Regions from separate parts of the Homo sapiens genome. Here regions 1, 2, 3, 5, 6 and 7 are each linked to region 4. The links are contacts of gene promoters, found by promoter capture Hi-C in blood cells and fetal thymus (Javierre and others, 2016). All regions are on one chromosome and are shown on one strand. Each heading gives the region's core, a stretch centred on a gene start or on the middle of the fragment in contact. The rest is flanking DNA. Distances are from core to core; before and after follow the strand shown.

Region 1 (3,404 bases), core at 905-3,404, 280 kb before region 4:
CACACAAATGGATACAGATGCCTTTGTACAAACATAAGTGTTCACACTCAGACACACGGATGTACACAAAGCCACCCTCTCTCTGCTCTGGGGCCAAGAGCCTAAGAGCCCTGGCTAATTCTTTCCCTAGGCTCTCAGGCATCCAGCAGAGCTGGGGTGTTGAGCCCCCGTTTCCTGGGTTCCTCCCTGCCACCCCCTCACCCTGTCTCTGTATAGCACCTCCCTGAGCCTTCACTGTCTGGCTGGGAAGGACTGGCATCTCTGCCTATCCCCCACCCCTTGTGTACCACATCTTCCTGCTATACCCTACACTTTGCCCATGGGAGCTGAGCCCCAGCGAGGGAGGGAGGCACAGAGGAAGCCCCTTCGGCGGGAAGCAGGTGTTGTGAGGCCGTGAGGAGTCCTATGTCCCAAGGCGGGAGGGAGGCAACTGGAGCTTTTCAACTCGAAGGGCTGAGCAGGTGGCCCCTCTGCAGCTGCTTTCTCTGCCTCCATAGCACTGATACAACTCCCGGCCACCCCTCCACACTCCCCTCCTCTGTGAAACAAACACAGCTTCCTCACACCCTTTGCTGAGAAGCATTTGGCATTTCACTTCCCCTTCCATTTTGCAAGAGGGAAACAGCAAGCTGGAGCTGGTTGGAGAAGTAGTGGAAGCACCAGGTACCTGTATCTGCAGCCCAGGTACATGGTGGTTGAATGCAGAAAAGCCTCCTGGGCTGACCTACTTCTCTTTCTCTCTTCCAGCACAAATTGAAGTGATCCCTTGCAAAATCTGTGGGGACAAGTCGTCTGGGATCCACTACGGGGTTATCACCTGTGAGGGGTGCAAGGTGAGTCATAGGCATGTGTATGCATGCATGTGTGCGTGTGCATACACAAGCGCGCGCGCGCGCACACACACACACACACACAGTGTCTCCTTAGAGATAAACAAGGGGGTTAATGGCCTTTGTTCTGACTCCAGGGATGATCTCCTGGGCAGCCAGGAAAATGCCTGAGTAGCGCCTTCCTGCAGGGCCCTCAACACTGGCAGGGCCCTGTCTTAAGCTGGGGAAATGACTACAGGATAAATTGCAATTACACAAATAGATGGAGGAGAGAGAAAACTGACAGGTCGTGGGATGTAGAAAAGCTGCCAGAGCTTGTGGGCTGGAGGCCTTTGTGAGTGAGCTGGGCCTGACCAGGATAAGCAGTCTTGCCCTCCACCTGCTTTCCCCAGGGCTTCTTCCGCCGGAGCCAGCGCTGTAACGCGGCCTACTCCTGCACCCGTCAGCAGAACTGCCCCATCGACCGCACCAGCCGAAACCGATGCCAGCACTGCCGCCTGCAGAAATGCCTGGCGCTGGGCATGTCCCGAGATGGTGAGGCCAAGTCGACAGCCCCCTGGGGTTTTCCTGGTGTCTCCAGAGGGGCAGCCTGGCCTGCTGAGCTAGACAAGGCTTAACCTGCAAGACGGCCCATCCTCTGGTCTCCTCTCCATTCCTCCCCGTTACAACCCCTTGTCTCCTCCCCTCCAGGGATGGATGGGTCACCCCCATCAAAGTTCTTTGGAGTCCCCAACTTTAGGCTTTGCTAGAACAAACATCCTCTTTCCAAGGTCCCATACCTCTTCATCTCTTCTTACTTGGAACGAATTCTCCTCACTCTGCTGCCCTCTGGCCCAGCTCCCATGCAGCTCTGGCACCTTCCCCTGCTACCCTGTTGTTGTAGTTCTAGCTCTATCTCCTTTTCTAATCCCCCATTCCCATACTTGGACACAGGACTATAGCCAGGAATGGAAACAGAATTGGCCTGAGAACAACCAGAGGGTGGTCGTGGGGGAGGGCTGGTGTTCCTGGTGCCTTATCCACCCTCCTCACCCACCACCTCCTCACCAGTCTCCCTGCACACCTCCACCACCACAGAAGGAGCCTAGGGTGGAGCTGGGGGGGCATGAGGTGATGAGGAGCCAGAAGGAGCCCGTCAGCACTTTTCAGTGCCCAAAATAACAAAGCAAAAGGAAGCACGCAGGGGTGCAAAGGGGCAGGCGGGGCGAGGGGCTGTGCCCCTACACCTGGGAGGGGTGGCGGGGGGAGTAAAAAGGCAGGAAAGAGAGAGCAGAAGAGGATGTTCAGAAACAAGCCGCGGAGCCCGGGTTGGGCTGTGGTGAGTATCTAGGTCACCAGGGAGCCTGCAGGCCTGACCACAGGGAGACCTGTGTTCTCAGCTCTCCTCTTCCTCCGACCCTCCCAAAGAGGCGAGGTGACCCCAATACAGCTTGAGGCCCTCTGCTCGACCACCCCCAGCCCCAAGATCTGGAGGCCAGAATCCCCAGCCTAGACTCATTGCTTGAATTCTGCCATGATTCAAATCTGATTTAGAACTTAGAAGATTTTGCTTAGCAGATTGAAATGGCAGACTGGACAGACCCCAGAAGCAAACAAGAGTGAGAGGTGGACGGGGTCTTGAGCATAAGTTCCCTAAAGGCTAGAGAAGCTGTGCTTGGAGTCAGCCATTCAGAGAGCAGCAAGTTAATCCTTTAATGACCAAATGCCTCCTGACCCTGCCCTGTGCCATGTTCTCCTGCCTCATAAACCCCTGGTCCCTGGACCTCTTTCAGCTGTCAAGTTCGGCCGCATGTCCAAGAAGCAGAGGGACAGCCTGCATGCAGAAGTGCAGAAACAGCTGCAGCAGCGGCAACAGCAGCAACAGGAACCAGTGGTCAAGACCCCTCCAGCAGGGGCCCAAGGAGCAGATACCCTCACCTACACCTTGGGGCTCCCAGACGGGCAGCTGCCCCTGGGCTCCTCGCCTGACCTGCCTGAGGCTTCTGCCTGTCCCCCTGGCCTCCTGAAAGCCTCAGGCTCTGGGCCCTCATATTCCAACAACTTGGCCAAGGCAGGGCTCAATGGGGCCTCATGCCACCTTGAATACAGCCCTGAGCGGGGCAAGGCTGAGGGCAGAGAGAGCTTCTATAGCACAGGCAGCCAGCTGACCCCTGACCGATGTGGACTTCGTTTTGAGGAACACAGGCATCCTGGGCTTGGGGAACTGGGACAGGGCCCAGACAGCTACGGCAGCCCCAGTTTCCGCAGCACACCGGAGGCACCCTATGCCTCCCTGACAGAGATAGGTGAGCAGCTGGGGAGGTGGAGAGGGTGGTAGAGATGAGGGAGGGGTTTCCACCAGTACCCCGTATCAATCAAACATGCGCCTGAGGGAATTGAGGGGTCCAGACGAGGGGCGGAGGGAGGAGGCGGAGCAGGATAGGCCAGGCTGAGAAGTGCCCTTGCATGGGTAGGCGTAGGAGCTGGCTGAGATCAAGCCATGCCTTCCTTCTCCGGCCCCAGAGCACCTGGTGCAGAGCGTCTGCAAGTCCTACAGGGAGACATGCCAGCTGCGGCTGGAGGACCTGCTGCGGC
Region 2 (3,300 bases), core at 56-2,555, 260 kb before region 4:
AGTCGGAGGAGGGACTGAGAAGGGAAGAATCACGTGGCCCTAGGGAGCCTTTCTGCGCAGTAGCATCTACCCAGCGTCCTTAGTTTCCTCCCACCCACCCCTACACCAAACCAGATGCAAGCATTGTGAGCTTTCTAGTTGATTCCTGCTGCTGTTGTCCTTGCTCTGAGGAGACTCCACTCATTAGAAGATTCCCAGCTCAAACTGCCCGACAGATGAGACACTCAGAGCCACTGAGGAGGTGAAGCTGGACTTCACAGGCAGGCCGCTCTTTAGTGGGGCAGAGATAGGAATATGGGGGTAGTACCAGAGGTGAATGTGAGAACCAGGCAGACAGGAGAGTGGGGCTGGAGAAACTGACCTGCTTGAGAAACGAGTTTCCCTGAGCCTGCAACCTCCCCACCCACCATGCACACACAACTCAATCAGCATCCCAGCAACTTCCCCTTCTTTAGTGTATAATGTACCAGACAGATTTCCTGGGGCACAGCCCTCCCGCTCCTTTCCATAACCTTCCACCAGCAGCTTATTAGGTTGGGACTTGGGAGTCAGACGCTGAAGGTTCTCACTCTAGTTGCCCTCTCTGCAATGCGGAAGCAGCAATGCTGTTCAGAGAAATCTTCTCTGGGAAGCCCCTGACGCTCTGGGGAACAGATGACTGTCTGGTGCTGGGACATGCTGCTGCCCAAGGTCTCTGAAGTCTCAAAGTCTCCAGAGCAGAGCTACCCAACAGACACAGAATCTAAGTCACACATGTAATTTCAAATTTTCTAGTAGCTACTAAATTAAAAAATCAAAATGAAACGGATACATTTAAATACTTACTTTATTTAACCCAATATACCCAAACTATTATCATTTCAATATATTATCAATATAAAAATCAATCATAAAATATTTAACATTTTTTCATATTAGGTCTTTAAAATCCAGTGTATATTTTACACTTACAGTACATCTCAACATCGCAATTCAGTTACTAAATTTTCACCAGAAAAATCTATATTTCATACAGGTCACTGTTGAGAAAGTGGATTCACACATCTAAGTTTTTTCAAACATAAAACATTTTCCAATAACTGAATCGAATCTCTGTCTTAAATTTTAAATTAAACAAATTTAAAATTCCATTCCTCAGCTGTACCACCTACCTTTACAAGCATTCAATAGCCACATGTGGCCAATGGCTACCATATTGGACAGCAAAGCTTCAGACATTGCAACCTGGCGTATAGACTAAGGTCTCCTTGGCAGTGGTGGGTGGACAAAGTATCCCTCAAGAAACACATTTAATCTCAAGGAAATGCCTATGGAGTTAGTCCCACCACAGCCCCTTAGTCTCCTTTCACAGCTTTACCAGAACACTTTTGAGGGGTGAAGCCCATTCAGGAAACAAGCTTACTATGATGAGCACTTCCACAGCTTGTCCAAGCGTTAGCATGCCAGTCCCTCATCTTACCTGTCGGGAAGACTGCCCTCAGCTCAGCTGTGATGGCACAGGCTGCTGTGTGTGTGCTGATGAGTGTGCAAATGCAGCCAAGGACATGAGTGGGTGGTGTGTATGCAGAAGTTTTGTGGCCCATGTGCAGGGATGTATGGTACCACATCATGGGGACAATCTAATGGAGGCTCTGCCCAGGGTGGGACAGCAGTTCAAAGAGAAGAAAATAACATTTATTGAGGGCCTATTCTATGTCAGTGGCTTTATATATATTTTCTTATTTAATCCTTACATCAACCCTATAAAGTAGAGAGGCATCTTAGCTGGTGAAACTAAAGGTCAAAGAGAGTAAGTGCTCAAGTGCACAGAGCTAGTTAGTAAATAGTAACTAGCTATTTGAGCTCATGGCTGTCTGATTGAAAACTCCCCCTTTCCACCACACTGCCATCCTCACTGCCATGCCCTCACGGCTCTCTCTCCCAGGGCCTTTCAGTTGCAGGACACGACCTGTAAGAAAGGAGAAATCTTCCAATGCATCCACTCTGAACTTTCAGTGGGGACTGGGCTAAGTTATTGGTCCTTACATTCTTCATTAACTCTAATGCACCTGATTCAGGATGTTGGGGTTTTTCTTTGTTTTTACTCTTTCTTCTCAGTCCCCTCTCCCAATGTCCTTACAGCCTCTGCCTCAGGGACTGATAGAAAGGAGCAGAAATTCCAGGGAGTAAATGGACTTCAGTGAAATGCCTGGCTTCCAGCAAAGGATTCTCTGAAATGGAGGCTTCACATTTCCTAGTTCTTTTCTGGGTTCTAACCTCAACAACCTCCTAGGTTAGAGAGAGGTTGCACAGATTGGTGGAACAATCTGTGAGCTACTTCAGATTGGAGAAGAATTTGACTCTGCCTACCTTCTGCCTACCCCTGCTTGACAGAACCTTTCTGAGGACATTCCATCCTGCTCTCCTTCTACCCCTCTCTCTTCCATCTCAGACATGGTCTTACCTAAGCTGAGAGAGAACTCTGGACCCAAAGATGCTGTGGCACCATCTCAGCACTTCACATTTCCTTCCCCCATACAATCTTTCTCTATTTCTGACTTCTATTTCCTGTGCTGTGCTGGATCCCTGATTCAGGAGATGAGAGCCCGGCTAAGCAATGATCCTCAACTTTTTTTGAGTCACAGATCCCTCTGAGAATCCCTGATGCAAGCTGTGAACAAAAATGTTTGTAAATTATCCAGTTATTCTGAAGCCATCACAGACTCCATAGAATATAGGTTAAAAATTCTGCTATAAGAAGCCACAGGTTGCAGCAGAAACTGAGGCCTCAGGCCACCTTTGCTCCCCAGGGTCCATTAGAGGCAAAGAGAAAAGGCTGAGAAGGACTACCGTTCAAAGTGGATGTTAGCACAGGTAAGAGCAGGTATTACAATGGGCCCAGCAAGAAAACACACAAAAATGCTCCATCATTCTCTCCTCCCCTGTCCCCTTCTCCCACCAGCACCCATCTGAGGGAGAGGCAAGAGACTTTGGGTGGAACTCTTGCTGTAAGAAGTCAGTACGGTGGTGACTCAGGCTGGAGAGTATCTGAAAACAGGGACTCCTGGGTCCTGTTCCTCCAAATTGCTTCGTAAGGGGAATTAAGTAGGAAGATAGAGCTGGGTGGTGGTGGTCAGAGAGGCTGAGGAGAATTCTTTCCTAGGGCATCTGCCACAATTAAATCTGGCCTAAAGATTGAATAGTAGCACCAGCATAAGTGAGGACACTAAGGCTCTGCTCCCAGTCGCTGGTTTCTGGTGAAGAGGCTTAAGTGGGGAGGAGGGGGTGACTCCTACGATGGGCAACAGGAGAGATGAGTGC
Region 3 (3,424 bases), core at 801-3,300, 450 kb before region 4:
AACATATTTTAAATAACAGATGTTTGTTTTTACTGACACCCTGCCGTTTATTTTCTGGGTGGGCTGTAAGAAAACTAGGGTATGGACAAGACACAGAGGAGCAAAGCAAGTCCGACTCACTCTGCAGAAGTGTCCTCTTTGAAACTGCAGCCGGGATCTGGGCATAGGTCCAAAGCAAACATTTGAGATTTTTCAGGAGCAGACACTTTTCTGAGGAGGACTCCTGCTTGTCTGCTACTCGCAGGACAACCAAAATACATCATTATCAATTTCTTAACAATTCATCGAGCAGGCTCTATGAGGGCTGGGGCACTGGCTATTGGGACCCTGCTCAAAAAACCTGCAACCTAGTGAGGAAAGAAACAGAAACACAAATAACTAGAATTCAGGCCAAATGCTTTAATAGTATTCCATTAGCTGGTGAACTCCTCAAAGGCAAGCACCATGGAGAGCTTTGTGTGTGTGTGCATGTGTGTATGTGTGTGTGAACACCCTCATGCCTAACACCATGTCTGGGACATTCAAAGTAGGTGCTCAGGGAGGGAGAACCAAAAATGGAAAATTGAATTCCTCCTAAGGTAACTAAATTTGTGGAGTCCAGAATTGTTTTCCATAGAGAAAACTATGCAGAGAAAGATGTCTCCGCCTCCCTTCTTAAGACCTGTTGCTCAGACAAACATGTAGAGGGCATGTATAGGCATCAGATTAGAATACTTCAATAAAAGGTGAGTGGACAGCAAGGCTGTTATTATCCTGTGGAGCTCAGCAGTGAGATAGCAGCACTAGAAAAGCAAAAAGTAGAAGATGGGATGAATGAAACACGAGAAAATAGCAAGTGTTAGAAGAGAAGGAGCACAGTCATGTCATTCTGACTAGACCTGTTTAGCAGGACACATATTTTTCCTTTTGCGTATGGAATGTGCACTCCTGTGTACTCTATCTACTGTTCCGTTCATAGTTGAACACTTTTGGGGCCCCTTTCCTGGCCCTTCCCAGCTCTCACATCGTCCTCCTGAGCTCTGAGCTACAAGGCTTTCAGCCTAGTCCTGGGTAATCACACCTGCACCTCAGCTACTGCCCAAGGGATTGTGTGGTTCATTTATGCACATAACAGTTATATAGTGCTCCATGAATAAAAGCAGAATAATTTGTAGTTCTTAATCAAGAGAAGCTTAAATCTCAGGCAGACAAGTAAACAATTAAATGAAATTGAATGTTTCAGGTGCAAGAGTACGTTATTGGGGATAGAGAGGACACTGCAGCCCCTCAGCCCCAGCCCCAAGGCCCTCCTGTCAAAATGTGTCTAACCAGGATGCAGGAAGCCCACATCTGTCCAGGAATAGAGCTTGCAGAGTGGCTACGTGAGGGTGGAAATGCCAGATTGAAGTCCCTGAAGAACTTCAGTTTTGGCAGCTAGCAGTGCTGCAGACAGCCCTGCCCAGGCAAGCCCCACCCAAGAACGGAGGGCCAGGCAGGGCTGACTCAGTTGGGCAACCATTGGCTGCACTCAGACAAGAGTTACATGATTCATCCTCTAGCCAAGAGAACAGAGTTTTAATCACAACATTTCCCCCTTTCCTTTGTCTTATTTTAAAGCCAGTGTGCAACTCCTTCCCCAAAACAGAGTTCCTTGCTGTGGCCCTGGTCAGTGCCCTTTGGGGTACTGGTTGCTGAGGAGACAAGGGCTTCTCCACTGATTTTCAATGCTATTTTCACCTCCTGGCTACTCCCTCCTCTGCATCCTTATTGCAGAAGGCCTACTGGACACACAGGGAGTCAGCTGGCTGCAATATTCACAATCCATCCACTGAATAAAACCGCTGGGGGAGGAGGGGAGGGGAAGACCAAGTGGGAGAAGGATGTAACTTCAGAGAAGGAAGCTCCGTCACTTCGTAATGGCTGTGGGCAAGAGAGGCATGCGACTGAGTGACTTCAGACCTAAGCACTCACACAGTGTGAGGTAGACTCACCTTGCTCTCCTGAAGAAGATACTCAAGGGTGGCCAGGATTTCCTCAGCTGACAACTTGTATTTCTTAGAACCTCCTAAAATTAGCCTTTTTAAAATTTAGAGGTCCTTACCCTGCTGCATTCCCTTTCTTAATTCTGCACTTTCCTTCTGTCCTGTCATCTGAAAAAAGTAAACTAGGTACCCCACCCAGTTCCAATTTCTGGGATCTTTGGGAATTGATCCTGAAGTGCTCTGCTGCTCTGAACTTGAGCACAGGTATTTTTAAACCTCTGTGGTGTCTGACTCCTTTCCTGAGTTATTTAAGAACTGGGGTGGGATCCCACGTCCTTCTCCCAGAGGTGACTCGCCCAGTTCAGTTCTCTTAAATTGCTGGACTTGGAGTACCAGTCCAGGCAAGGCAGACTCTCTGTAAGCCCACTGCCATCTGAAACCCATATGAGGGATGGGGGATGAGCCAGATCTGAGCTGTGTCAGAAGAGAAGGAAAAGGGTGTGGTTCCCCTGGAATTCATCTCACAGCAGACCTTGAAGCATTAATTTGCAGCTCTCTCCAAGATAACTAACTGCCTTTCAGATGACTCATGCCAGATTCTGATTTATAGCATTCTTTGGCCTGCTGGTTCCCATACTTTTCTGGAGATTAAGGGGTAGAATTTACAATTCTTAAGTGTTAATTGCTCAATCCTCATGTTTACCCACTCCACCTTCTCCTCTGTAAAAGATAGCATTTGAGAATCAGTGTTGAACAGGCATCTCTCAGAGATAGGAACCAGACCAAAGCATGTCTCAGGTTCCCATTAGAGCTCTTCAGCAGAGGAATTTGCCAGCCCTTCAATCTAAGCTCAAAGCCTATTCTTGTGATTATTTATTTTTATTTTTTAGTGCTATATTACAGTCTCCATTCACGTTCACCTGTTTCCTATCCAGTAGTGATTTTAGGTGATATTAGCCAAAGCTTATCTGTTCTCGCCAAATGATTCCTTCCAATTAAGCCAAAATTCACTGAGGTTCTATTAAGTACCACGTACTGGGTCTTGTGAGACATATACCCCTAGTTCATTATACCCAAATGTAATGATCTGACATGTTTCCTTTCCTTTCTTATAAACGCTTCATGATGAAAGCTCTTGCTTTCCCACTGTACCCCAGACTGTGAGAGCAGCTCATCTGTCTAATGTCACTAAAAACATAGGAGGCCCTCAAATGAGTTAGGTTATAGTATTACTTGTTGCTTCTCAAGTGAACTAGACAATGGACTTTGAGTAGTTTTCTGTTTGGGTAGAGCAACTGTATTTTACTGCCAGAGATGCAACTGTCTTTATTGCAGTAAATAACAAGTTCAGAGCTTTAGTAAAGAATACATATAGGCCGGGCATAGTGGCTCACGCCTGTAATCCCAGCACTTTGGGAGGCCGAGGTGGGCGGATCACGAGGTCAGGAGATCGAGACCACGGT
Region 4 (3,212 bases), core at 335-2,834:
ACTGCAGCTCCGGCAACATAGCAAGACACTCGTCGCTTAAAAACAAAGAGCAGGGAGTAGGACTTGTGGCTGACACATAATGGATAGATTTCTTCCATCTCTTCAGAGTCTCATAGCTGGGGATGTGGCAGGCTACAGAAGAATGGGGTTTGGGCAACTGGGGTTGGCCAATAGCAACATCTGTATTTTAATGTGGCAAAAACACTCATAGCCCAGGCAGAAATGGAGAGGGGACTGGGAAAAGAACTAAATGACCATCTGTATTCTAAACCTGAAATGAGTTTGAAGAAGAGCCATAATCTAGCTGCAGTTGGGTTAGCTCTACCTCAAGAGCAGGATGAGGCAGGCAGAGAGTAAGGGAGTCAGATGTGGGAGGGGGGATGATACACAAGTTCCCCATCACCTTAGTTTTCATTTCACTCCCACCCACAATAGCTTGGAAATTGATGAAATAGTACACACCTAATCTGGGTTAAGTTCCCCAAAAGAGCCTAGAAACACTCAGCCACAAATTACCCTCCTCAGCCTCTGGAGAGGAAAAACCATATGGTCAGCTAGGGTGGGGAGAACTGGGACTGGGAGCCAGAGAAAGAGGAGAGAGGGGTAGACCAGCCTGCACTGGAGAACGCCCCCTTTCTCCGCAACCCTCTCCCCGTCCAGAAGCCTTCGCTTGGGTCACTTCCCTCCCCTTCTCGGCCCGGGTTCTGCATCCCCTTCCTCCACTATCCCAGGGCCTGGCGGCTGGAGACGGAAGCAAAACTAACACACCGTCCCAGGAAGCTATCGGCAGGCAGATAGAGGGAGGAAAACAAGAGAACTACAAGGGGGAAGAAGGAGAAATCCAAGACAAGAGGTGACCCCCGGGCGGAAAGCCCTATCCCTTAGCGAAAGGTAGAGTCCCTAGCCAATCTCGGAATAGTTTGAGTCCTACCGTCCCCTACTTGCCCCCCGCCCTCCAGTCCAAGCCCTGTAATTTACTCTACCATTTTTCTTGTTACTGATCATCCAAAGCACCATGATGAAATTCTTTGGAGGGCCTCGGAGGTCACCAGGACCCTCGACCCACGGGAAAGCCTAAGCCTCCTCGGCAGGACACAACGTCCAAAGGCGCTCAGGGACCCAGTCGCTTGAGCTCATTCTCTTATGACCCAATGTGGCTGCCCAAAAGACGCCTGAGACCCGCGGCCCAAGCACGGGCTCGCCGGCGCCGAGTCCCAGGCAGGAGCCGCAGTGTCCTACCAAAGGGCAGGGACGCCCCGAACCCTCCAGCCTCAAAGGAGTCTTCACCCCGCGACTCCCACTGCCCGTCGCAGGCAAAAGAATAAAAAGAGAGAAGCGCCGCGCAGGGCTGACCGCGCGAGCCGGGCACCAGGTGATGTCAGCCAACACGGCGCGGGGCACGGAAGGGGCGGACTTAGAAACCGGGAATACAAAACGGAGAAGACAGCGAGAGCGCTTTTTCTTACCGCCGCCTGGTCCTCTGGGTGCACGTCCACCAGGGTACACCAGTTCCGCGTCCCGTTCATCTTCCCTCGGGGTCGCAGCACACACGCCACTTGTCCACCCCGCTGTCTGGCTCCAACTGGGCGGGCGCGCGCGGAACCGCCCCCTTGTATAGGCCCATCAGGGGCGGGGCTGAAGATAGGCCGCGCCCCCAGTTCGCGGTTTCGCAGAGAACTAACGATAGGCGAGGAGGTGAGGTGGGCGGAGCCAATGGGTCTGGGACATGCCCCATCGGTGCTCGCATAGATTTACACAAAGGTGGGGCTTGGGAGCGACATGGGGCTGCTTTAACTGAACAGCTTTATCTGGAGTATGTGGTTGCACATTCTTCATTAATCTTGTCGCTTTCCATCTTTCCAAGATCAGTGTTGGTCAGAGGGAATCACCCTGCCTGCTCCTAGTGGATGAGGAGTTGGAACCTGCAAAAGCTTCCTTCCATACATGCTCCTCTCCCTATACGTAAGCCACCTGTAGGCTTTGTGGAGCTGAGTAAACCTTTCCTCCACCGCAGAAAGGCAGGCACCAAGGTCCAGCTCACTCAGACTGGCCTAAGCCAGTCTGGCAGGTGCACTTCCTTGGCAAGAGGCCCAGGAGGCCCAGTCAGCTTAGGCTCTGGGTGGGGCTTGTTTTGCAGAAGCTCTTTTACTGACGCTGCCCTTATATAGTTGGGAGAGGCGGGACACATTGCCTTAAAAGGAATTTGTGTTCGTGAGAAAGGATGAGCCTTGACTTTTCCAGTTGCATTTTCTCCCCAAGCCTAGGCTGGGATCTTGAGGGCCTAGAAGAGAGGGTTGGCCAAGCAGGACCCTGGAGCTTCGTCCCCGCCCAGCTGCTCTTGGCAGATGGCTTCTTCACTTGGCTGTGGTCCACAGAGACAGCAGACAGAATACTTTAGGAGGAGGTCTGACCCACTCCTGAAGGGATAGTACTCCTATACCTGGCAATAGGCTCTAGTGAAGGGCCAGCTCCCTCTTCAAGGCAACACTAGGGCAGGAACAGCAGAAATGTCCCTACCTCCCAGTTAGGGACTGGGTCCTATGTCAGTTAGGAATGAATGAGGATTTTTCTACCTGGGAAGTGAATGCTGGGGTTATCACTATGACCCAAGGGAATAAAACCCAGTTCTGGTCTGTTCTACTCTAACCCTCAAAAAGGCATTTACTGCTGGCCAGGCGCAGTGGCTTATGCCTGTAATCCCACCACTTTGGGAGGCCGAGGTGGGCGGATCACAAGGTCAGGAGTTTGAGACCAGCCTGACCAACACAGTGAAACGCCATCTCTACTAAAAATACAAAAATTAGCTGGGTGTGGAGGCACGCGCCTGTAATCCCAGCTACTCAGGAGGCTGAGGCAGGAGAATCGCTTGAACCCGGGAGGCAGAGGTTGCAGTGAGCTGAGATCATGCCATTACACTCCAGCCTGGGTGACAGAGTGAGACTCCGTCTCAAAAAAAAAAAAAAAAAAAAGGCATTTACTGTCCTTGTTCTTCCCAGAAGGTTGTTCAGGAGAGAAGAGAATGGGGCTGCTATAAACATCTCCAGGTTTCGTAGGTCCCATCTGCTCTGTTCTAAAGGGCCTCTGAAAAGTCAGGTGAAGAAAACTCCAGCTTCGGCTCCTAAGCTGTACAGTTAATATGACTTCATAAAATCTGGACCTCCAAATATGCCAAGAAAAAGAATGAGAAGACAAACCAAGGATTTCAATATAAA
Region 5 (2,986 bases), core at 460-2,959, 390 kb before region 4:
GCAACTTTGAGTCACTCAACGTATTTCATTGTCTTCTAGGCGTATTTAGTCTTTCTATTGAATGTAAGAACTGGACAGAGAGGTGGGGAGCATCTTATCGCTCACTTTGCAAAAGAGGAAACAGCTCTGAGGTCTCATTTTACGTATCTATTGACTATTTTATACTCAGTTTGGAAACAAAATGATAAATAATAGAGCAATCTATCACTTTGTAAAATCTAGAAGACTAAGCTTTGAAGTTCTTCCAAGTCCCTAATTAGATAATAGTCATCACTTAAAGAATAAACTGTTAGGTATTGAGATAGATATAACCTGTTCATTTATTGACGAATATCAGCCTAAAAGTTTACCAGGAAATAATTTAAAATGTATAAAATCTTCCTAATTACTCAAAGGAAATTTATAATAGTCAAAAATTTTACCTACTAACCAAAAATCCAGAAGATTCAGGACAAAAATAAATGGAAGAATAGATAATTATCTAAATACACTTGTGGAGGTCAGAATAATGGGCCCCCAAAAAGGTCCAAGTAAGTCTCTGGAGTCTGTGAATACGTTACCACACATGGCAAAAGGGATTTGCAGATGTGATTAAGTAAGGATCTTGAGATGGGAAGATTATCCTGGATTACATGGGCAGGCCCAATGTAATAACAAGGGTGTAGGGTGCAAGGAAGAAAGGTGCGGAAGAGTTACAGAAAATGGGACGACAGAAGCAGAGGTAGTTTTACAATTGCTGGCTGAGGGACCAAGCCAAAGAATGTGGGCTCCCTCTAGAGGCTGGAAAAAGGAAGAAAACAGATTCTTCCCTAGAGCCTCTAGGAGTACAGCTCTGCTGACACCTAGATTTCAGCCCCCTGAGACCCACTTCAAATTTCTGACCTCCAGAACTGTAAAATAATAAATTTGTGTTGCTTTAAGCCATTAAGTTTGTAATAATTGTTATAGCAACAAGAGGAAACTTATACACACTCTTTTGGCTCTTTCGGGTTAATGTGCAGTTTTGGTGACAACATACTGATCAAAATTGTCAACAAATTATGTGATCTCCCCCTTGTGTATAGTCAGTGGTATTATAAGGTAATTTCAAAAGAAATGGAAGAAAAAAGTTTTTTAAATAAATGGAAAACAGTTACTATTAATATAGTCTGATTGGAAAGGTTAAAACCACTTGGAAAGGTTAAAACTTTATGGAACATATAGCTGCAAACAGTTCCACACAAAAACAAAAACAAAAAAGGCTACAAGAAATCTGGTGCTATTCCCAATGCCTTTCTACACTAGCTGGTGAAATGTCACAGTTGTCAGTGGACTATTACCCATGTTTAAAGCCCATCTCTCCTCTTGCAGAGAACCCAGACTTAGAATCTCAAGCAAAACAATGGCTTGCATTTGAGAAAGAATGTCTAATAAGAAAACATTTATATTGTTGGTGCTGCCTCTCAATATCTATCAAAAAACTTTATGCAAGATTATCTGAAGTATATATAAGTCACAGTACATGTTTCTCTGAGGCCAGATTACCAGAAAGCTGAATAACTGTACTATATTGTTTTGCCCCCTCTGCTGGGTCGCCTCCATTCCCTTTGAATTTCTTTCACTGAAATTTGATGCCATCAGCTTAATTAAGAGACATTACATGGTTTAGCCCTGTGAGACTTTTGTTGTCTTTACAGTTAGGATTCTTTGAGGTTGTTATTTGTTGTATTACATAGAATCCCCTCCATGAAAACCCTTGCATAAATCCATGTGTTAAGGTGTCTGTACCAGAAACAGGTAAGCCGCTTCTAAGCAGAGGGTCATTCTTCTTTTTAACGCTCACAGAAATATAATACACATGGCACTACACAGCTGTCAAAAGCTATGGAACTATACAACAAAAAGAATGAGCCCTAATGTAAGTTAAGGACTTTGGTTAAAATATCACTGCTGGCTCATCAATTGTAATAAATGCACTACACTAACGCATGACATTGATAATAGAAGAAGCTGTTTGGGTTTGAAGAGGGTAGGGGTAAATAGTAATTCTCTGTACTTACTACTCAGTTTCTCTGTGAAACTAAAACTGCTCTAAAAAATAAAGTCTATTAATTTAAACATATATATGTATATATATATACACATATATATGTATATATATACACAAAAGCATATATACATATATATGTGTGTGTATATATATATATATATATATATATATATATATATATATATATGCACACACAAAAAGCAAAGTACACTGTAGCATAGTAGATTCTGGGAAGATGGCAGCAGCAGGGGCAACAGCATAGGTGTTCAATCTTTCCTAATCCTAACACAAAAACAAACGAGCAACTTGCTATTGTCTGAATGTTAGTGACTCCCCTGCCCCCAAAATCCACATATAGAAAACTAACTCCCAAGGTGATGATATTAACAGGTAGGGCCTTTGGGAAAGGATTCTATCATGAGGGTTCTGCCCTTGTGGGTAGGATTAGTGCCCTTGTAAAAGAAGCTCAAGAGAGCCTGTTCACCCCTTCTGCCATGTGAGGACACATGGAAGGCACTACCTATGAAGAACAGGCCCTCTCTAGTCACTGAGTCTGCCAGTGCCTTGACCTTGAACCTCTCAGCCTCCACAACTGTGAGAAATAAATTTCTGTTGTTGGTAAATTACTCTCTCTAAGGTATTTTGTCATAGCAGCCTGAACAGGCTAAGTCTCAACTAGATAGCAAAACCAAACCCTACAGACATTTACAAAAAAACAAATGACAAAGTATTCCCACGAGCCTCAAAATACAAACAAGTGGGGACAAACCAGCAGTCACAAAACTTGCATGGTTTCTGCATCAGTGTGTGAGGAAGAAGAATGAAGAAATGGAGACAGTGTCTGATGGACCTGAGAACTCTCCAACAGTAATAGGTATGGAAGACACAGCTGAAAAGGGAAAGATCTGATCTCTCCAATAGGAGGTAAGTACAAGAGGCCCACAGTAAGGACTTAAG
Region 6 (3,461 bases), core at 5-2,504, 380 kb before region 4:
GCGGATAACTCATTTCACAGTTACTTTCCTTGTACAGTGAGAAGAGGAAACAGAACAATGGAGAAATAACTAATTGTTAACATCAGGTTACATTTTTTGGTAATGATTAGGGCAGACGAAACTTTATTATCATGCCCGTTTGGGAAATTAAGCTGTTCTCTCTCTCCTGATTTCTAGGAAGATCAAATAACAACTTAGTTTTGGTTTGGTTACATTAAACTTTAGTATGACTGGCTCCATTTTGATTTTTATTCTGATCTGCTGGGGCCTAGTGCAGGAGCTTAGTCCAAAACAATGGCCTCCTATAATTTTTATTTAACAATTTTCCCCTTTTGGTCAAGGCTCAAGTGAGAACCTGACCAAAACTAAGGGCATTGGCACTAGTCTCAGTTACCATCATTTTAGGTTTCCAGTCTCAACACATCATTCATAGGTTAGTGTCCTCATCATCATGCATTTCTTTGAGTTTTTTGTTATTCCAGCCAAAGACAGACTATTTGACATTCAACAGATGGCTGTATGCAAACATTTAAAACTTTTTTTTTTTGAGATGGAGTCTCGCTCTGTCACCCTGGTGGAGTGCAGTGGTGTGATCTCAGTTCACTGCAACCTCTGCCTCCCAGGTTCAAGCGATTCTCCTGCCTCAGCCTCACGAGTAGCTGAGACTACAGACACGCACCACCATGTCCAGCTAATTTTTGTATTTTTAGTACAGACAGGGTTTCACCATGTTGGCCAGGCTGGTCTCGAAATCCTGACCTCAGGTGGTCCGCCCACCTCAGCCTCTCAAAGTGCTGTGATTACAGGTGTGAGCCACCACACCCGGCCACAAACATTTAAAACTTTTTGAGAGCATACAGTGCAACAGACAGACTACTATTATTACTCTCAGGAGGATATTATCAAGAGTCTGGAGTATGCTCCTTAGCTAGGGTCCTCATGAAACAAACCAACTAAAATAGAATAGATTGAAGAATGAGCCAGATGAGGAGTATATCGATCTTAACCAAGTAGCCAGTCTATTTTTTCAGCCCAGTCTCTATGATACCTGATGTATTTATCCCTGTGCAACAAGAAGTGTTAGCAACTGCAATGATTCCTTCTTGTTCAGCTAATAGAAAATCTCATGACTGAGTTAAAGTATGGAATGACAATTTGCAAGTCACCCACAGAAGCTACTGATTGTGAAATTCTAACGATAGCATTATTCTGCCAGACAAAAAAGATAGGCATAAACAAGGAAAAATTAAGGGAAATAATAGTCTCATTATGGCAGGGTCTTGTTCTGACAGTTTTGTCTGTTTGTTTATTTGTTTGTTTGTTTTTTGGAGACAGGGTCTAGCTCTGTCACCCAGACTGGAGTGCAGTGGCAGTGGCATGATCTCAGCTCACTGCAACCTCCACCTCCTGGGCTCAAGTCATCCTCCCACATCAGCCTTTTGAGTAGCCGGGACTACAGGCATGCACCACCGTGCCTGGCTAATTTTTGTATTTTTTTTAGAGACGAGATTTCGCCACGTTGCCCAGGCTAGTGTCAAACTCCTGGGCCCAGCAATTCACCTGCCTCAGCCTCCCAAAGCACTAGGATTACAGGCATGAGCCATTGCACTCAGCTGTTCCGACAGTCTTGAGAAAAACTCCCCATGATAAAGTTAACAACTCATGTGGGTTTGTAGTTTGAATGTCTCTGGTTATGGCATCGGGCAGTTTGGTGAACTTGGTGTGGTCCACACATCGGGCATGAGGCTTGTCCCTTAAAATTTACATTGAGTTGTCCAGCTTCAGCTCTGGGGCTTTAGGAACAGAGCAATTTTTGTTCTTAGTTGGAAAATTATAGCCAGATACTGAAGGAAACTAGAATACAGGATCCAGTCCGGTATACAGGTAGACAATAAAAATTTGAAAACAATGAATAGGAGTAAAACCTAATAACAGGTGTACTATAGTTTTTCCTCAGAAACATAATTATTCTCTTTACAGTCACCCCCATTTCTATCAAAGATAAACACTATAAGACTCATATGTTTGCAACATAAATTTAGTCTCATCAAACTTGATCGTTAGACTTTCTTCTCAGTATTTAAAAAACAGAAAGCACCATGTTTCTTTAAAAACAATCCTTTCTTCACCTCTGGCTGCTGTCCTCTCTTCTCACTATAAGAGGTCTGAAGAGTAGTCAGTCTACTCCTGTTTGTATGTTTACCTCCCACTCATTCCTCCAGCCTCACCTCCCCACCTCAGCTGCTCTTACTGATGTCTCTAATATGTTCTGTGTTCTAAAAAAAGGACACTTTCAGGCCTTTATCTTAAGTTCCAAACTATTCTATTATCTCTGCGGTACCTTCAACACAACGTATCCAGAAAAGAACTCACTTTTCTTCCCTGTGCCCCTAAACATACTCCTCCTTTTCCCTTTCTAAAGGGTACCTCCACAATTTGTAGTCCAGGAAACCTGGATAACATCTTAGTCCTCCTTCTTTCCCCTGCCCTTGGCCTCATCCATTACCAAATCCCCTCACTCTATCAATCCCCACAAAGCACTCAAGTGTTTCCTTGATTCCAATGCAATTTCCCCGGAGCCTCTATCATGATCCTTCTAAAATATCAATCAGATAATGCCAGTCCTCTAGTAACAGTCTCCCTGTAGCTCTCCATTTCCTCCAGAGTGATCTCTAAACACATATAGGAGAATAGAGTCCTTTGGGATCTTGAAGCCCCAGCCTGCTTCTCCAGCCTTTTCAGCCTCATCTTTCACCACAACCCCCTCTTACTGGATGCCCAAACTCCACGGAAACTCTCAGTAGTGTCCTGAACTTGCCAGGTGACTTCATGCTGTCCTTTGACACAGAACCTGCAATGTCCTCTTTTGCCTCATTTGCTGGGCCAACTCCAACTTGTCCCTCAAGACTTAGCTTCTACTGTACCTGCTCAGGGATTTAGTAACTTGCACAAGGACAGTTTCACTATTCATCTATTGTAGGTTTTCTTTTTGAGACTCTTAAGATATTTGAATTAGTGTCAACCCTAAATGGTTTCATACAATACTAAAGGAAGTCTGGCCTGCAGTGATCCCACAACTACAGAAGTGGATTTGTTCCTTTAGTCACATGTTGGTGACTCAAAATCTATATTAAGCATTTGTAAGTATTTATAAATGATACTTTTTTATTATTCACAGTATACCAAGGCAAAAATAAGCTTTCTTAAGTTAGAATTCTGTAAAGATTGCTGCTTATCCAGTTCATCCCACCTCACTCATTACCAGAATTTTCATGTAACAGCTTGGTTGGTCTGTCAATCCAGGTGTCTTTACATAACAAATCCTACAGATGCCCTTAACTCTGAATTCAACAAAGGCAATGTTGAAAAAGACCAACCCAGCACTCTGTATTTTTTAATTTTTTTTTTTTAATGTTCACCCTGTCTTATGGTGCTGCAGCACTCTGTAATGACAATGATAT
Region 7 (3,039 bases), core at 290-2,789, 350 kb before region 4:
GTACCTACTTCATATGATTGTAATAAGGCCCCTCAAAACTGTTTCATGCCTCTTTTGCCCACTGCATTAGGCTGTTCTCACATTGCTATAAAGAAATGCCTGAGGCTGCGTAATTTATAAAGAAAAGAAGTTTAATTGACTCACATTTCTACAGGCTATACAGGAAGCATGATGGTGGCATCTGCTTGGCTGCTGGGGAGGGCTCAGAAAACTTACAGTCAGCCGGGCACAGTGGCTCACTCCTGTAATCCCAGCACTTGGGGAGGCCGAGGTGGGCAGATCACCTAAGGTCAGAAGTTCGAGACCAGCCTGTCCAACATGGTGAAACCTCATCCCTACTAAAAATACAAAAATTAGCCGGGTGTGGTGGGGCGGCACCTGTAACTCCAGCTACTCAGAAGGCTGAGGCAGGAGAATCACTTGAACCCAGGAGGTGGAGGTTGCAGTGAGCCAAGATTGCGCCACTGCACTCCAGCCTGGACAACAGAGTGGGACTCTGTCTCAAAAAAAAAAAAAAAAAAAAAAGGAAGCAAGAAAACTTACAGTCATGGCAGAAGGCAAAGCAGGAGCAGGCACTTCACATGGACACAGCAAGAGCAAGAGTGCAAGGCACAAGGTACTATACACTTTTAAACAACCAGATCTCATGAGAACTCACTATCATGAGGACAGTACCGAGGAGGATGGTGCTAAACCGTCCATGAGAAATTCACCCCCATGATCCATTCACCTCCCACCAGGGCCCACCTCCAACTTTGGGGATTACATTTCAATATGAGATTTGAGCGGGAACACACATCCAAACTATATTCCAGTGTTTTTTTTTTTTTTCCTGTAATACTTTTTCCAGCTGGCTAATTTCTGCTTATCTAATCAATATTCAAGTCAAAGAACCCCTTCCTGAACCCCTAATCCTAGATGAGTACTTCTCCCTTATCCCCTAACTTCCTGTGCATAGCCACTGGAAGCACTTTCAACATGGAAGATAATGCCTGTTCTTAACCTCCATCTCCAGTGTGCTGGGCTTACCTGTGCTTGATTAAAGTCTGGAAAAAAAGAATGGAATCAGCAGACCTGAGCATAATCCTGGCTCTGTCAATAGCTCGCTGGGTGATGTTGAGCAAATCATTTTCCCTCTCTCAGTCTCTCATTTTCCCAAGGAGGTTGGACCAGATGATCCCTGAAATTCCCTTCCATTTTGAAGTGACAAGCTTATGGGGAGAAGAAAAGCAGCAAGATAATCTTAGAAATTGGGAGAATATGTTATGAAATAGAATGCACCTCCCATTACTTACTTTTCTTTTTCTTCTGTCTTTTAGAGGTCATTTTCTTCTGAGGAAGTCATTCTTAAGGACTGTTCTGTCCCCAACCCCAGCTGGAACAAGGACCTAAGACTGCTCTTTGACCAGTTTATGAAGAAATGTGAAGACGGCTCCTGGAAACGTTTGCCTTCATATAAACGTACACCTACTGAATGGATTCAAGACTTCAAAACCCATTTTCTTGGTAGAAACAGCCACTTTCCCATTAATATATCTGAGCATCAAATATAAAGCTAAGAACAGATTGAAGTACTAGTTACTACCTGAAAAAAAGAAAGAATATAATGCAGGATTATGGTTCTATAGTCACCAATTTTATAGACCAGAAATCACAATAAATTTTGCAGATTGGAGAGCATAAAGCCTATTGTCAAGAATAAGACTGCTCCCACCCTGGCATTCTTATCACCATTAGCAAGAGTGAAGAAAGGGCCCCAGAGAGCTTCCACCCTCCTACAACCTCATCACCTCTCCGTCTTGAGGCTGTCATCTAATCTCATTTCACCCTTTATCCCATATCTGGTTATATCACCCTAAGAAGCTTAGAACACTCAGGTTATACCCACATCTCCCAGTATCTAAATCCCCAGGGCAACCCACCCAACACCCAAAACACACACATAGCAATTCCTATCCTTCTGTGTTTTTTTACTAATATACTTTTTTAGCATTATAATTTTATAGAAAAATTAGCCTAAAGTACAGAGAGTTCCCATATACCCTTTATCCCCTCCCCACCCCTAATTTCTCCTATTATTAACATCTCACATTACTGTGGTGTATTTGTTACAATTGATGAGCCAATATTAATATATTATTCTTAATTAAGGTCCATAGTTTGTTTTAGGGTTCACTCTTCGTATTATGTTTTCCGTGGGTTTTAACAACTGTGTAATGACAGATATCCATCATTATAGTATATTTGAATCATTCACAGATATTTCTGAGTTACTCATTATCTTTTAATCATCCAAACACATCTTTAGGTGGTGGTTGGTTTTTTTTAACTGACTTTTAAGAAGGCCCTTGGGCCAGGCACCGTGGCTCATGCCTATAATCCCAGCACTTTGGGAGACTGAAGCGGGCGGATCACTTGAGGTCAGGGGTTTAAGACCAGCCTGGCCAACATGGTGAAACCTCGTCTCTACTAAAAATACAAAAAAAATTAGTTGGGCCTCGTGGCGGGGACCTGTAATTCCAGCTACTTGGGAGGCTGAGGCAGAAGAATTATTTGAATCCAGGAGGCAGAGGTTGCAGTGAGCTGAGATCGCGCCACTGCACTCCATCCTGGGCAACAGAGTGAGACTGTCTCCCCCCCTACAAAAAAAAAAAGAGAAAAAGAAGGCTCTCAATATTGCCCAACAACCATACTTCATGTTTCCCTAGTTTATTCACTCTCCTCCCTTACTGGATGAGTATTTTCTGCCTTTTTCTTTCTTCTTATGCCTCTAATACTTTCCCTTCTCACCCTCAGTTGGTCTCGCTTCCTATCTCACTAAGAGAAAATAAAAGCAGTCAGAAGAGAACTCCCAGTCTCCCATTGCCTCACATATCCTCCCCCCTGCATCTGTGCCTGATGTTCTGCTTCTTCCTGCTGTGAGTGAACCATCCACACTCTTAGGGAGACCAAGCCTTCCATTTGTGCGCTGCATTCCATTTTCTTTGGCCTACTGAAGGACATCCATCTCTGCTAGATGTTTCGTATCAGCATATAAAC

The links. Contacts are between HindIII fragments. The CHiCAGO score rates a contact against its expected background, and 5 or more counts as called.
Region 1: a contact is called between a fragment that was not itself captured here and the fragment with the promoter of TUFT1 in region 4, in 7 of 17 cell types (M1 macrophages, M0 macrophages, erythroblasts and 4 more). The highest score is 10.6, in M1 macrophages.
Region 2: a fragment that was not itself captured here is called in contact with the fragment with the promoter of TUFT1 in region 4 in 13 of 17 cell types (M1 macrophages, M2 macrophages, M0 macrophages and 10 more); the score reaches 10.3 in M1 macrophages.
Region 3: a fragment that was not itself captured here is called in contact with the fragment with the promoter of TUFT1 in region 4 in 1 of 17 cell types (erythroblasts); the score reaches 5.3 in erythroblasts.
Region 5: a fragment that was not itself captured here is called in contact with the fragment with the promoter of TUFT1 in region 4 in 1 of 17 cell types (M2 macrophages); the score reaches 5.9 in M2 macrophages.
Region 6: a fragment that was not itself captured here is called in contact with the fragment with the promoter of TUFT1 in region 4 in 3 of 17 cell types (M2 macrophages, erythroblasts and M0 macrophages); the score reaches 8.0 in M2 macrophages.
Region 7: a contact is called between a fragment that was not itself captured here and the fragment with the promoter of TUFT1 in region 4, in 1 of 17 cell types (M2 macrophages). The highest score is 5.3, in M2 macrophages.

Annotation. Positions count from the first base shown.
Region 1 is chr1:151,814,624-151,818,027 of GRCh38, reverse strand. It overlaps RORC (RAR related orphan receptor C), which reads left to right. Exons shown (of 11, transcript NM_005060.4): 3 at 748-833; 4 at 1,223-1,364; 5 at 2,603-3,115; 6 at 3,333-3,404. Among named protein-coding and RNA genes, the nearest start is that of LINGO4, 11 kb to the right of the region's middle. RefSeq lists an enhancer at 2,587-3,087. The HindIII fragment of the contact is 5,382 bases long and covers 1-3,404 here.
Region 2 is chr1:151,796,114-151,799,413 of GRCh38, reverse strand. No RefSeq gene overlaps it. Among named protein-coding and RNA genes, the nearest start is that of TDRKH-AS1, 7.0 kb to the right of the region's middle. The HindIII fragment of the contact is 189 bases long and covers 1,211-1,399 here.
Region 3 is chr1:151,987,739-151,991,162 of GRCh38, reverse strand. All of the region lies in intron 1 of S100A10 (S100 calcium binding protein A10), which reads left to right. Among named protein-coding and RNA genes, the nearest start is that of S100A10, 4.4 kb to the left of the region's middle. The HindIII fragment of the contact is 1,753 bases long and covers 1,174-2,926 here.
Region 4 is chr1:151,538,681-151,541,892 of GRCh38, reverse strand. It overlaps TUFT1 (tuftelin 1), which reads right to left and starts at 1,584. Exons shown (of 13, transcript NM_020127.3): 1 at 1,467-1,584. The coding sequence starts at 1,526. It overlaps CGN (cingulin), which reads right to left. Exons shown (of 21, transcript NM_020770.3): 21 at 3,201-3,212. RefSeq lists enhancers at 777-1,291, 1,292-1,807, 2,323-2,839. The HindIII fragment of the contact is 3,648 bases long and covers 1-1,933 here.
Region 5 is chr1:151,931,976-151,934,961 of GRCh38, reverse strand. All of the region lies in intron 1 of LOC124904421 (a long non-coding RNA gene), which reads left to right. Among named protein-coding and RNA genes, the nearest start is that of THEM4, 24 kb to the right of the region's middle. The HindIII fragment of the contact is 2,951 bases long and covers 234-2,986 here.
Region 6 is chr1:151,914,876-151,918,336 of GRCh38, reverse strand. No RefSeq gene overlaps it. Among named protein-coding and RNA genes, the nearest start is that of THEM4, 7.1 kb to the right of the region's middle. The HindIII fragment of the contact is 3,893 bases long and covers 1-3,200 here.
Region 7 is chr1:151,893,475-151,896,513 of GRCh38, reverse strand. THEM4 (thioesterase superfamily member 4) reads left to right here. Exons shown (of 6, transcript NM_053055.5): 2 at 1,320-1,506. Among named protein-coding and RNA genes, the nearest start is that of THEM4, 15 kb to the left of the region's middle. The HindIII fragment of the contact is 652 bases long and covers 1,214-1,865 here.